2 separate regions of the Homo sapiens genome follow, and region 2 is linked to region 1. The links are contacts of gene promoters, found by promoter capture Hi-C in blood cells and fetal thymus (Javierre and others, 2016). All regions are on one chromosome and are shown on one strand. The core of a region is centred on a gene start or on the middle of the fragment in contact, and the rest is flanking DNA. Distances in the headings are between cores, read along the strand shown. Region 1 holds the start of EPX (eosinophil peroxidase). Region 2 overlaps HSF5 (heat shock transcription factor 5).

Region 1 (6,030 bases), core at 602-3,101:
TCCAAGCTATGGTACATACACCCCACCCTGGCTCCAACCTAGGGTACATACACCCTACTCCAACTCCAACCTGGGTTATATACACCCCACCCTGGCTCCAAGCTGTGGTACATACACCCCATCCAGCTCCAACCTGGGGTACATGCATTCCACCTGGCTCCACCCGGGGAGCACCTGGCTCCCTGAGGGCCGGGAGGTGACACACAGCTGAGGAGTGCTGTGTGATTTATATAATCTCTCTCCTCCATGAGGCTCCCTGTCCCCATCTCACAGGTTTGGAAACAGGTCCATGGAGGGGTGTGATTTACCCAGTCACTCAGTGGGTCAGCATCAAGGAACCCAGTGTGCTTTCAGCTCCTACACAGTGACTTCTACCCAGGCCCCCCGTCACAGGAGAGGGGCCTCCGCTAAAGATAAGGAGATAAGATTAGGAGGGCTCAGGCCATCAACTGGAGCTTGTGAAAGGGGTTGCCGAAGAGAGGTGGTTGTTTCAAGAGCAACGGTTGGGCTGGTAACATTGCTGTGGGAGGAGGAGGCTGTGGAAGGCACCGGGCAGGGTTTCGGTAGGGTGTGGGGGTGGGGGAGGAGAAAGGACACTTGGAACAGCCTCCCTGGGAGTCTGGAGCAGGCACGGGGTCCACACTGAAGAAGGAATGGACGTGTCCTCCTGAAGAAGGGGCGAGGACACGCAGGCTGCTGGCCACAGTGGTGGTGACTCTGGAACTGTCTCAGGGATGAGCATGTGCTCTCCAGGCAGCCGGGATGAGGTCAGAGGCAAAGGATGAACCTGGCTCATCCAGGGCAGGGAACTACAGGAGGAAGGCTTAGGTGCAGAGAGGGTGGGCCCTGGCAGAAGGCCGACTGGGATGCACTCTGCACTTAAGGTGGAAATGGAGGCGCACTTAAGGTGGAAATGGAGGCTCACCCAAGGTCACGAAGCTAGTGACAGGGCTGGATTCAATCCAGGCCAATCAGACCCTGGTGCAGCACACTGCCTCTAAAGAAGCTACTTCTCACCAAGCCCAATAGGAACTCATAATTGAAATCTACTTCTCAGAGTAAACCTACTACTGATTGGCACCTAAGAAACTCCAAGAGAATAAAGCCCATGGCGGGCGCTTACTTTTAGGCTCTGCAGCAGCTCACTGGGCTGGGTGTTTTACCTGTGACATCTCGCCATGTCCCCAAAATGGCCCCATGAGGGATTTCACTGCCAGGCCCTGCCTCAGTCACAGCCTCACACTCTCCCTGGCACCTTGGAGGGAGTGAGTAGGGCTAGGGGATAAGGAGAGGGGCCAAATCATTCATCACAGATCATTCATTCACTCAACAAACACCTGCTAAGCACATACTAAATGCTGGGCTTTGAGCTGGGTATGGGGGGTGTGTATAACAGTAAGGCAGATTCAGTTTCTGCCCTGTTGCAGGAGGAGAGGCACCCTTCCAATCATCTGGCCCAACTCTCATTCTAGGGATGTGAAAACTGAGGCCTGGAGAGGGAAAGTGGCTTGCCCAAGGCCATGCAGCCAGGCGGTGGCGACTGAGGTGCACCGCTCCTGTCAGCCAACAAATATCCATTGAGCGACACCTGTGTCCCAGGTGCTGCTCTGGGCCCTGGGAGAAGTGCATCAGTGGGCTTGGTAGTAGAGGGTAGGGATGGAGTGAAGGGTAGGCAGGAAGAATGTCCCCAGGCTGGTAGGAGGTGGGGTGGGGGGTTTCAGTCTCAAAACTCCCATGAAAACCAGAGAGAAGTTTCAGAACTCCACCCAAGAGGCTGGGTTTCTAGGGCCCAGAGCTGCCCTCCCCCACCCTAGAATGGGCTATAAAAGTCCCTTCCCAGCTACGTCCAGAGAAGAGCTGGAGGAAGTGAGAGGTCGGCTGGGGGTCCTCAAAGTGAGAGGGGAGCAGAGGATCCTCCCGTGCAGGCTGTGGATGTCACTCACTTCCCAGCTGGTGAAGCCTCGCTGCAGAGATGCATCTGCTCCCAGCCCTGGCAGGGGTCCTGGCCACACTCGTCCTCGCCCAGCCCTGTGAGGGCACTGACCCAGGTAATAGTCCCCTAGACAGGCAAGGAGGAGGGAGGGGAAATGGAAGGGGAAGCACTTGGGTCTTGGAGGGGGTCTTGTGGCTTGCTGAACCCTGAGTCCCCATCTCTTTGAACAGCCTCCCCTGGGGCAGTGGAGACCTCGGTCCTGCGAGACTGCATAGCAGAGGCCAAGTTGCTGGTGGATGCTGCCTACAATTGGACCCAGAAGAGGTGGACTTGGGTCTGGGGGCTGCATGGGCCTGGGAGGATCAGTGAGGGGCATGGGCCCCAGCCAAGTTCATCTCACTCATCAGCCACCTCTGGACCCCATGAACATTTCCTGTTGGTAGAGCCTCCCTTCCATCCATCCTTCTGTCCGCTTGCCCTGTCCTGACTGTGCCCCAGGACTGGGTCTCTGCTGGGTGGGTCTGCACCCTCTCTCCAGCCCTCACTCCTCCTCTCCTGGGCAGCATCAAGCAGCGGCTTCGCAGCGGTTCAGCCAGCCCCATGGACCTCCTGTCCTACTTCAAACAACCGGTAGCAGCCACCAGGACAGTTGTTCGGGCCGCAGATTATATGCATGTGGCTTTGGGGCTGCTTGAAGAGAAGTTACAACCCCAGCGGTCCGGACCCTTCAATGTCACTGGTACTCTGATCCCCACTGAGCCCGCTGGGCCTACCCTGGCCTGGAGTAGAAGGAATCCAGGAGAGGGAGGCAGGGTGCACAGGTTTGGGGTGCTGGGAGGAGAGAGGGTAAAGGGATGGGAGGTACAGAGCAGGCCAGCTCAGGTCTGCCCATTTGCCTTCCCACAGATGTGCTAACAGAACCACAGCTGCGGCTGCTGTCCCAGGCCAGTGGCTGTGCTCTCCGGGACCAGGCCGAGCGCTGCAGCGACAAGTACCGCACCATCACTGGACGGTGCAACAACAAGTGCGTGCGGGGCGGCAGGAGGGGCTGCCCCTGCCTGGGGGACCTCTCCCTTCCTGCACCCACCCTCTCCCTCCATGCTGAGCCATCTCCAGGCCCTGCCCCCTGCTAACCTATCCCACCCATGGCTGCAGGAGGAGACCCTTGCTAGGGGCCTCCAACCAGGCTCTGGCTCGCTGGCTGCCCGCCGAGTATGAGGATGGGCTGTCGCTCCCCTTCGGCTGGACCCCCAGCAGGAGGCGCAATGGCTTCCTTCTCCCTCTTGTGAGTTGGGGCTGAGGGTTTGGGAGGTTGCTTGATCTCTTAAATGCGGGGAGTAAAACACAGCCCAGAGTCACGCAGGCAGGGCTTGAACCCAGGCCCTTCCACTGACCAGTGCAGTGACTTGAGGCAAATAACACAGCTTTCTGAGGCTTAGTTTCCTCATCTGTAAAATGGCCCTAAAACCTACCTCGTAGAGCCTGTGTGGATATTGAAGTCCTTGGTATAAATAGCTATAGAGGACATGATCTATTCATGCTAACCATTACGGTGTTGTACGGTTTTTTCTGAGAAAATTAGTGTCAAAGTCTTGCTAAATATAAACAGCTCTATACCTTAATCTGGCTTTATCTATTGATCTATTTCACATTTATCAACTCATCAGTTTTCTATTGATATATCGATAGAGCAGTCTATCATCTACCCATCTATCAACATCTATTAATTAATTTTCTTCTATCCACCCTTCCATCTGCTGACCCCGTACTCCCTACGTGTATTATCCATCACCTGGCAACCAGCCCATGCACCTGTGAATCCGTGCTATCATCTGGTTAGCTATCAGTGTACAAATTGATCTATCTATTTGATCTCCCTTCCCCTCTGGGAGAGCTGGTGAGGTCTGAGCCAGTCAACCTAGCCCCTCTCCTTCTCTTTACCACCGGAATCCTCAGGAGCCCAGCCAGAAACCATCCTTCTAGGAATGAGAGCAGGAGGTGGCTACGCCTCCAGGGACAAAAGGGGCATGGAGGGCAGAAGAGGAGAGGCTGTCAATTCCAGCAGGGGAGCTGCTGCTCCCTGAGTCCTGGGTTGGCTCTAATACCTTGTGGGGTCAGGGAGCCCATGTCCCGTGCTGATGTTATTTCCCCACCAGGTCCGGGCTGTCTCCAACCAGATTGTGCGCTTCCCCAATGAGAGACTGACCTCCGACCGTGGCCGAGCCCTCATGTTCATGCAGTGGGGCCAGTTCATTGACCATGACCTGGACTTCTCCCCGGAGTCCCCGGCCAGAGTGGCCTTCACTGCAGGCGTTGACTGTGAGAGGACCTGCGCCCAGCTGCCCCCCTGCTTTCCCATCAAGGTACCTACCCTCAGCCAATCTCCCATGCCCTTGTGTGGCCTCCCCCAAAGGCAAGGTGCTGGGGGTGGGGATCTGGAAGACTGGAGCACCATCCTTAAGGAGCTGCCTGTGGAGCTAGGGTATGAGACAGAGACACAAGAAACACAGCTGAGCAGAGACCCCGCGCCGTGTGTGTTTGAGAGGTGGGGGTAGGGCAATCTGCCAGGAGGCTCAGGTCAGGCTTCATGGAGTGGGAAGCCCTTGACACATGCCTTGACCCATGGGTCTGAATCCAACAGGGGAAGCCTCTGGGCCCCTGCTTTTGGCAACCTAAGGGCCTCTTAGCTCTTGCCCTTCTCTCCTTCCCAGAGTAGTCCAAGGGTCCTGCGGCTCTTGCCAGCTTCTTGGGCTTGGGCTGTAAGTAGGGTCCTAACCTTCAGGCTAGAAGCCAAGGACAGTGTGGGGCACTAGGGGAGGAAAGATAGAATCCAGGGAGCAGAGTCTCTGCTAGGAACATAGGGTTGACACACGTGCACACACACACTCTCTCACACACACACACGTGCACACACACGCTCCCTCTCACACACACATGTACACACACAGTCACCCTTAATAGGTGGGGCCACATTCATGAGGGATGACATGTGAGGGCCTCTGGATGGCCTCTCCCTGTTGCAACCTTATCTATTCCTCAATCCCTGGCTTAGGGGCACCTCCTCTGGGGAGCCTTCTCAGATCTTCCTATTACACTTTTAACATATGTCCTCCCCTCCCCTCTCCTCTCTCTCCTTCCTTCCTTCTTCCTTCCTCTTTCTTTCTTTCTTCTTTCTTTCCTTTCCTTCCTTCCTTCCCTTCCTTCCTTCATTTCCTTCCTTCCTTTCTTTCTTTCTTTTTCTTTCTTTTTCTTTCTTCCGTCCTTTCTTTCTTTATCTTTCCTTCTTTCTTTCTTCTTTATTATTATTATTATTGTTTTGAGACAGAATCTCACTCTGTTGTCCAGACTGGAGTACAGAGGGGCAATCTCAGCTCACTGCAACCTCTGCCTCCTGGGTTCAAGCAGTTCTCATGCCTCAGCCTCCCGAGTAGCTGGGATTACAGGCATGTGCCAACAAGCCTGGCTAATTTTTGTATTTTTAGTAGAGATTGGGTTTCACCATGTTGACAAGGCTGATCTCAAACTTCTGGCCTCATGTAATCCACCTGCCTCGGCCTCCCAAAGTGCTAGGATTATAGGCGTGAGCCACCACACCTGGCCCACATATGGCTTTTCTATCAAGCACAGCAGATGCCACTTCAACTTAGTTTCTTAACTCTATGTGTGTGTGTCTTTTTCCACTGAACTGCCAGCTTCCTGCAACCTTTCCTGTGTTTTTTTAACCTTCATAATCTCCAAAGCAGCAAGCAAGAAAGGGGCTTAGAAAAGGTCTGTCGAATTGAACAGAATTAAAGAAGCTCAGGCCTAAGAGTCAAGAGAACTAAGTTCTAATCCCACCTTTCCTGCTAACTGGTTGTCACTTCCCCTCTCTGAGGCTGTTTTCCTTGCTGTAAAATGAGGATCGAGATTGTTTCAAAAGCCTCATTCATTCCTAACCTTTTGAGACTCTATGAAACAAAATGTTAAGGACACTCAGACTGACGGGGTGAGCAGCATGAGCCTGGGTGAGTCAAGGAGGGCTTCCTGGAGGAAGGGAGTTTTAAGCAAGGTTTTGAGGAGGTGGAAGATGACGGAGAGGAGTGAGTCTGCTATTGAGG
Region 2 (6,360 bases), core at 2,400-4,899, 270 kb after region 1:
TGAATTATTCTTACTAATTATTCAGAATTAAAGTTTATTCATTTTCTTGTAATAAACTAGTGGCAATAAAGGAATTAGCCTTTACCTTCTGCTTTAGGAGTGCAGATATTAGTAAGGAAATTCAAACACAGTATGCTCACAAGTTACAGTTCAATGATGCTGTAATAAAGTTAGAAAAGACTTCCAACCATCTCCTTACCTCCATGCTACAAATGGCTAGGAAAGTCATCATAATATCTGTCAAATAAACCATCCCTCCTGGGTAATAGAATTATCAGCCAGGCATATCTAATCTATCCAAATTAAGATAGGAAGCAAAAACTCAAGAGATGTTTATAACATGAAAATAAGCTTCATACTACAACGCTCAATTAGACAACCTCTCTTTAGAGGTTGACTTCAGACCATGCATAATATAGTGAGATGATGCTTAAGGGTTAAGGTAACTTCTTTCTGAATCTTTTGTGCAGAACCACTGGGACATGATCCTCCTGGAAACCATAATGAACTGGTATTAAACCCAAATAAAATCTGAACAAACTCTCCACTAGAATAGTCTTTAGCAGAAGTACTAGGTACTTTGAGCTTTATAAGCATTTTTTTCTTTGCCCCCTTACCTGGTGTGTGCTGAATGGTGGCCCTTCCTGCACAAATACTACTGAAGATGGAGATGGATTATGATTTAGGTGCTCCTTCAGTTTGACATGAGCTTGCTGGATGGCTGCAGATTCCTGTATTGTGCTATTTTCAACAGGCTGAGCTGTGTGGATGGTATAGATGTACTCAGGTGACTGTGGTAGAGAGCAGGCAACTGCTTGTTCTGTTCCAACCACAAAAGACATAATATCTGAGCCTACAGGAGTAAGTGGCTCCAGCTGGCTAGCCTGACTTGCAGAACATGGATTGCTGTTGTTAGAATTAGCTAAAATGTGTTGGCCTCTGTAAGACGGAGATGTTGGGCACTGATTCTCAACAGGCTCCACCTTTACCATCTCCAATTTAGGGGAGGAATGCAACTCATCAACTATCTGAAAGACAGCCTCTAGGTTTACTTCTGTCTTTGTATTTTCATCAGTAGTACTGCAGGGCCAATTGGAAGGCAAAAATTCAACTGGATAGGAGGACTGCATTGAAGGATTCTGGGAAAAGAAAAAATATAACTGTTTGGATAGAAAATAAAATATGAGATTAAGGAGGAAAGCTACAATATTTAGGCTGATGAGTGCTAAACATAAATAGATTAAACTTAAAGATCACTAAGAAAACCTAGACACTAATCTACTTTTCAGCAATAGTAGCTTCAAATCTACTGTTAGCATTTACTTAGTATATACTACATGTCAACCACTCTGCTAAGTTTAATACTCCAATGGTCAATAATTCTTAAGGTTAAACTGTACAAAATCAAAAGCTATAGTACCCAAATACCTATTTGCTGATAAAGCATCTATACACCAAATTCTTCCATAAAGGCTGACAGACAGAAACATAATTTGTATCTATCATATACTGTTTCAGGAATGCAGTAAGGAAATTTCAAACACAGGATGCTCACAAGTCTACCAATCCTTCTACAGATTCAGGGAGCGGTACTAATATTCTGTTCCAAATAATATGGGGAAAAATGGATGGAATATCAAATGTCCTTTGTTTCCTGGGATTATTTATTTTTAATAACAAAGCAATAGACTAAAATGGCTGTTGCTTTTAGATTTACATCTTTAAGATATATTCCCTTGTATATACTGCTTTGCAGAGAGTAGGCATTTAATACATGTTTGGTGATAAAGATCTGTGAACATAAAATACAGAAGAATGATTAAATAAAACATGTAATGAATTGATGTTGCACAATGAAGAGCTTCGCACAGAGTAGGCATTCAATAAATGTTTGCTGATTATATCAGATTATAAACTTAAAATACAGAAGAGTTATGATTAAAGAAAGTATGTAGTGAGTTGATGCTGCTAAACACAATCATTAACAAAGATTGTCAAAGATTTTCAGAAGGCCACTAATGCCAAATAATGTAAATTCAAATGGTATAAGCACTAAGTGACTATAGCCAATAGCACATTTATTGAGTTATTACTATGTGCCAAGCACATGCAAAGTGCTTTATATAGATTTCATCCAACCTTCAAAAGAGCCCTGTGAAATGTGATAATCTCCATTTCAAATGATAAAACTGAGGTCCAGAAACTTCCTAATTTACCCAAAGTTACAATGAAATAACTGACAGAGCCAGGTTTCAAGCCTAGGTTTGCCGTATTCAAGAGCTCTTGCTCTTAAACAATACAATGTACTGACTGTGCACGCACACTCTCACCCATACCTACAGTCCAACTAAACCAACTGCATTTATTTTCAGGATGGAATCTGAAACACTTTCCCATTTTTCTATTTCAAAATTTTATGTGTGCTTATTGCTATTTTCCTATGATGAACACGTATTGTCTTTTTAAAATTTTTTGTTTTGTTTTTGAGACAGAGTTTCACTTTTGTCACCCAGGCTGGAGTGCGATGGCACGATCTTGGCTCACTGCAGCCTCCACCTCCCAGGTTCAGGCGATTCTCCTGCCTCAGCCTCCTGAGTAGCTGGGATTACAAGCGCCCACCACCATGCCCAGCTAATTTTTGTACTTTTAGTAGAAACAGGGTTTCGCCATGTTGGCCAGGCTGGTCTTAAACTCCTGACCTCAAGTGATCCACCCACCTCAGCCTCCCAAAATGGTGCTGGGATTACAGGCGTGAGCCACCACGCCTGGCAGATTTTTTTTTTTTTTTTGAGACAGGGTCTCACTGTGTTGCACAGGCTGGAATACAGTGGCACAATCATAGCTCACTATAGCCTCAAACTCTTCAAACTCCTCAAGGTGGGAGGATCGCTTGATCCTCCCACCTCAGCCTCCCAAGCTAGGACAAAAGGTGCATGCACCACTACATCCAACTAACCCACCCTTTCTCTCTCCCTCCCTCCCTCCCTCCCTTCCTTCTTCCTTCCTTTATTTCTTTTCTTTTTTTTTTTTTTTTTAAGAGATAGGGTCTCACTCACTATGTTACCCAGGCTCATCTCAATTTCCTGGCCTCAAACAATCCTCCCACCATGGCCTCCCAAAGAGCTGGGATTATAAGGCATGACCCATTGTACACGGCCATATATTGTCTCTATAACAAGAAAAGGTCTTTATAAAAATGTTTTATTTAGCACACAACATAATCAAGATATAAACACTGCCATAGTATCTCCAGCATGATCCAGAGAAGAGAGTGCCTGGACCCACAAACAAGAGCATCTAACTGTGGGATAGGTATGTCCCTCCAGTGAAGATGAATGGGCTAGGATATCATGCTTGATCATATCAGCCATGAAAAATGGCCAGCTAAGTCCCCTTGATCTCATTCTATACTCCAAACAACAATCTGATTATAATTTGACTTCCTATGTAGATTTTCTCCAAAAAAAAAAAAAAGGGAATGTTCTTTTGAGTACCCTAATGCCACTAGTAAGATATTCTCCTAAGAACTGAGACTATCTTGAAACTATCTTGGCTAGATGATTATCCAAGGCAAACACACAATTCCAATCTTTGGCAGTTACAGCATAAAAATACAAAGCATGGAATTTAAAAGTATCCTTAAAATAGCTATATAAAACGTTTAACTCCAAGCAAGTGTCTCCTAAGAAACAATGAGAAGATATTTGAAGTAAAAGTTGAGCATCCTTAATCCAAAATTCTAAAATCTCAAATACTCCAAAACCTGAAACTTTTTGAGTGCTGGCATGATACCACAAGTGGAAAATTCCAGCAGAAAAGCACTTAACACAAACTTTGTTTCATGAACAAAGTTACTAAAAATATTGCATGAAATTACCTTTAAACTATATGCATAAGGTATATATGAAACATAATTAGATTTTATGTTTAGACTCGGGTCATATTCCCAAGATATCTCATTATGTTTTTGGAAATATTCCAAAATCTGAAAAAATCCAAAATCTGAAACACTCCTGGTCCCAAGCATTTTGACTAAGGGATACTGAACCATTATGGTGTTTACAACATAGGGGCTATGGATGAAGGGGGCCACCACTTAAATTTCTCATTTTTGACATTTTTCTCCTTTCTCCTTAAAAAGAAAAGTCTAATTTATCTGTATCATCTTGGAAGAATCTGTCATTTGGTGACTTACACACTTGTAGCGTTTATCTGGTATTCATTTTACCTTGGAAAAATCCAGAACAGCACTGTTTAAAATAACTTTCAGCAATGATGGGAATGTTCTAGATCTGTGCTGTATAATTCAGTACCCATAAGCCATATGAAACTACTGAGCACTCAAAATGTGTCTACGTTAAGTATGGAATAATTTTTAAATCAATTTAATTTTAATTTTAATAACCATATGAGACTATTGAGTACTTGAAATGTGACTAGTATAACTGAGGAATTTTTAAATTTCATTTAATTTTAATTAGCTTAAATAGCCACATGTGGCTAGTGGCTACTATATTGAACAGTTCTGGCCTAGAAGAATTCTGAGATATTATTTATATCAATTCTCTCTTTTTTTTTTTAAGAATTGAGAAAACAAAGCCCATTAATCCACAGCTTACTTCTGGTTACTCATTAATATAAAATTACACTTTGAAATTTTGCAATATCGATAAAATTGCACATAAAGCGCGGAGCATGGCCACAGTTGCAAGAATCTTACCTGGAAGTAGTTGCAGTGTGCATAGGAAGAGGCAGTGGGAGTGACACAACTACTTAGAGCATCCATGTGGGTAGGAGAACAGCACTGTAGCACAGCTGGAACAAATTCAAACACAGAAAAGCCATCAACCACAATACATTTCTATAGCATTCAAGGAGCTCCCCTCTTTCAACATGGAAAGAAATCCAAATTTGAAGAACTTCTTTTGTATGTCTAACAAAATATTTAGTCCAATTAGGTGGTGTTATTTATTGAAAACAACACACACAGTAACAAAATAATTTTAAAGGTCTTTAAAAGGGTCATGTCTAATGTCTATTTTTATAAATCATTTCTTTAACACCTAAGCATTTTGTTACCTTTCTAACCAAACATATATTCTTATTGAAAGTAATTTCATTTTATTGAAAATAGAGGAATATATTGAAATTCCAAAATAAGTATTTCAATCATTTCAACAGTAACAACTATTTGGAGGGTGGAGTGTTTTAAAAGAGTAAAATAACTATGAAGTATTCTCCAAATGTTCCACCATTAAACAATGCATCCAGTAGAAATGTACACAAAAATGTTTTAATAATTTAGGCAAGTGGTCAGGAATGCAGATCACAGAGCCAGACTGCCTGGTTTTGGAGCCCAGCTCCACCAGCCTGGCTTTACAGCCCAGTGTAAATTTGAGCATGGTTAATCTCTGTGTACCTCAGTTTCTGCATCCTATTAAAATAGAGATAATAACAGAATATAGAACCTACCAAATATGGTGGTTGTTGTGATATAAATGAGCTAATATCCATAAAGAACTTAGAAGAGTACTGGTACACAGTAAGCAAACAGTAAGTGTTAGCTGCTATTATTTTAACTGAAGAAACACATTTTCAAAACTTTCCCTTTATAGTCAGGACACTGTGAAAAGATTGAACTCTTGGTACTAGCAAAGTTACTTACAGATGCAGTCTTAATAATAGGTTGAGTCTGCTTTTTTGTAGAGACTCTCCAGTATAAGTGAGAATCAGTTATTAATATCACAACTGTGGTTTAAACAGAGGATGATGTACATTGAACACCCACCCTATTCCAGGCACAGTAGTAAATGCTTTACATACATTGCCTTTACAAAACAAGTAAACTAAAGCTCAGTGATATTAAGTAATTTGCCAAAAGTCACAAAGCTGGAAGTGACAGAGTCAGTAATTAAACTCCAAAGCACACGCTCTTTAATATACCACAATACAGCGAGGCATGGTGGCTCACTCCTGTAGTCCCGGCACTTTGAGAGGCTGAGGCAGGTGAATCCCTTCAGCCCAGGAGTTTGAGACCAGCCTAGGCAACACGGTGAAACCCCGTCTCTACAAAAAATACAAAAAACAGCCAGGCTTGGCGGCACATGTTTGTAGTCCCAGCTACTCAGGAGGCTCAGGTGGGAGGATCACTTGAGCCCAGGAGGTAGAGGCTGCAGTGAGCCATGATTGTGCCACTGCACTCCAGCCTGGGTGACAGAGTAAGACTCTATGTACAAAAAAAATTTACATATATATATATCTCACAATAATTCCCTAAGCTAAACCCTGTTCCTGAAATGTAACATTTGTAGTTTTACTAGAATTCTACTTGCCGAATATCTTTAAAGGTGTCTTTATCAA

The links. The method cuts DNA at HindIII sites, captures the fragments that hold promoters and counts their contacts. A CHiCAGO score of 5 or more calls a contact.
Region 2: a contact is called between a fragment that was not itself captured here and the fragment with the promoter of EPX in region 1, in 1 of 17 cell types (M2 macrophages). The highest score is 5.5, in M2 macrophages.

What each region holds. Positions count from the first base shown.
Region 1 is chr17:58,190,875-58,196,904 of GRCh38, forward strand. EPX (eosinophil peroxidase) reads left to right here and starts at 1,852. Exons shown (of 13, transcript NM_000502.6): 1 at 1,852-2,048; 2 at 2,164-2,257; 3 at 2,497-2,672; 4 at 2,840-2,957; 5 at 3,089-3,218; 6 at 4,090-4,296. The coding sequence starts at 1,973. The HindIII fragment of the contact is 9,173 bases long and covers 1-6,030 here.
Region 2 is chr17:58,462,165-58,468,524 of GRCh38, forward strand. HSF5 (heat shock transcription factor 5) reads right to left here. Exons shown (of 6, transcript NM_001080439.3): 3 at 4,721-4,815; 4 at 618-1,139. Among named protein-coding and RNA genes, the nearest start is that of HSF5, 23 kb to the right of the region's middle. The HindIII fragment of the contact is 6,600 bases long and covers 350-6,360 here.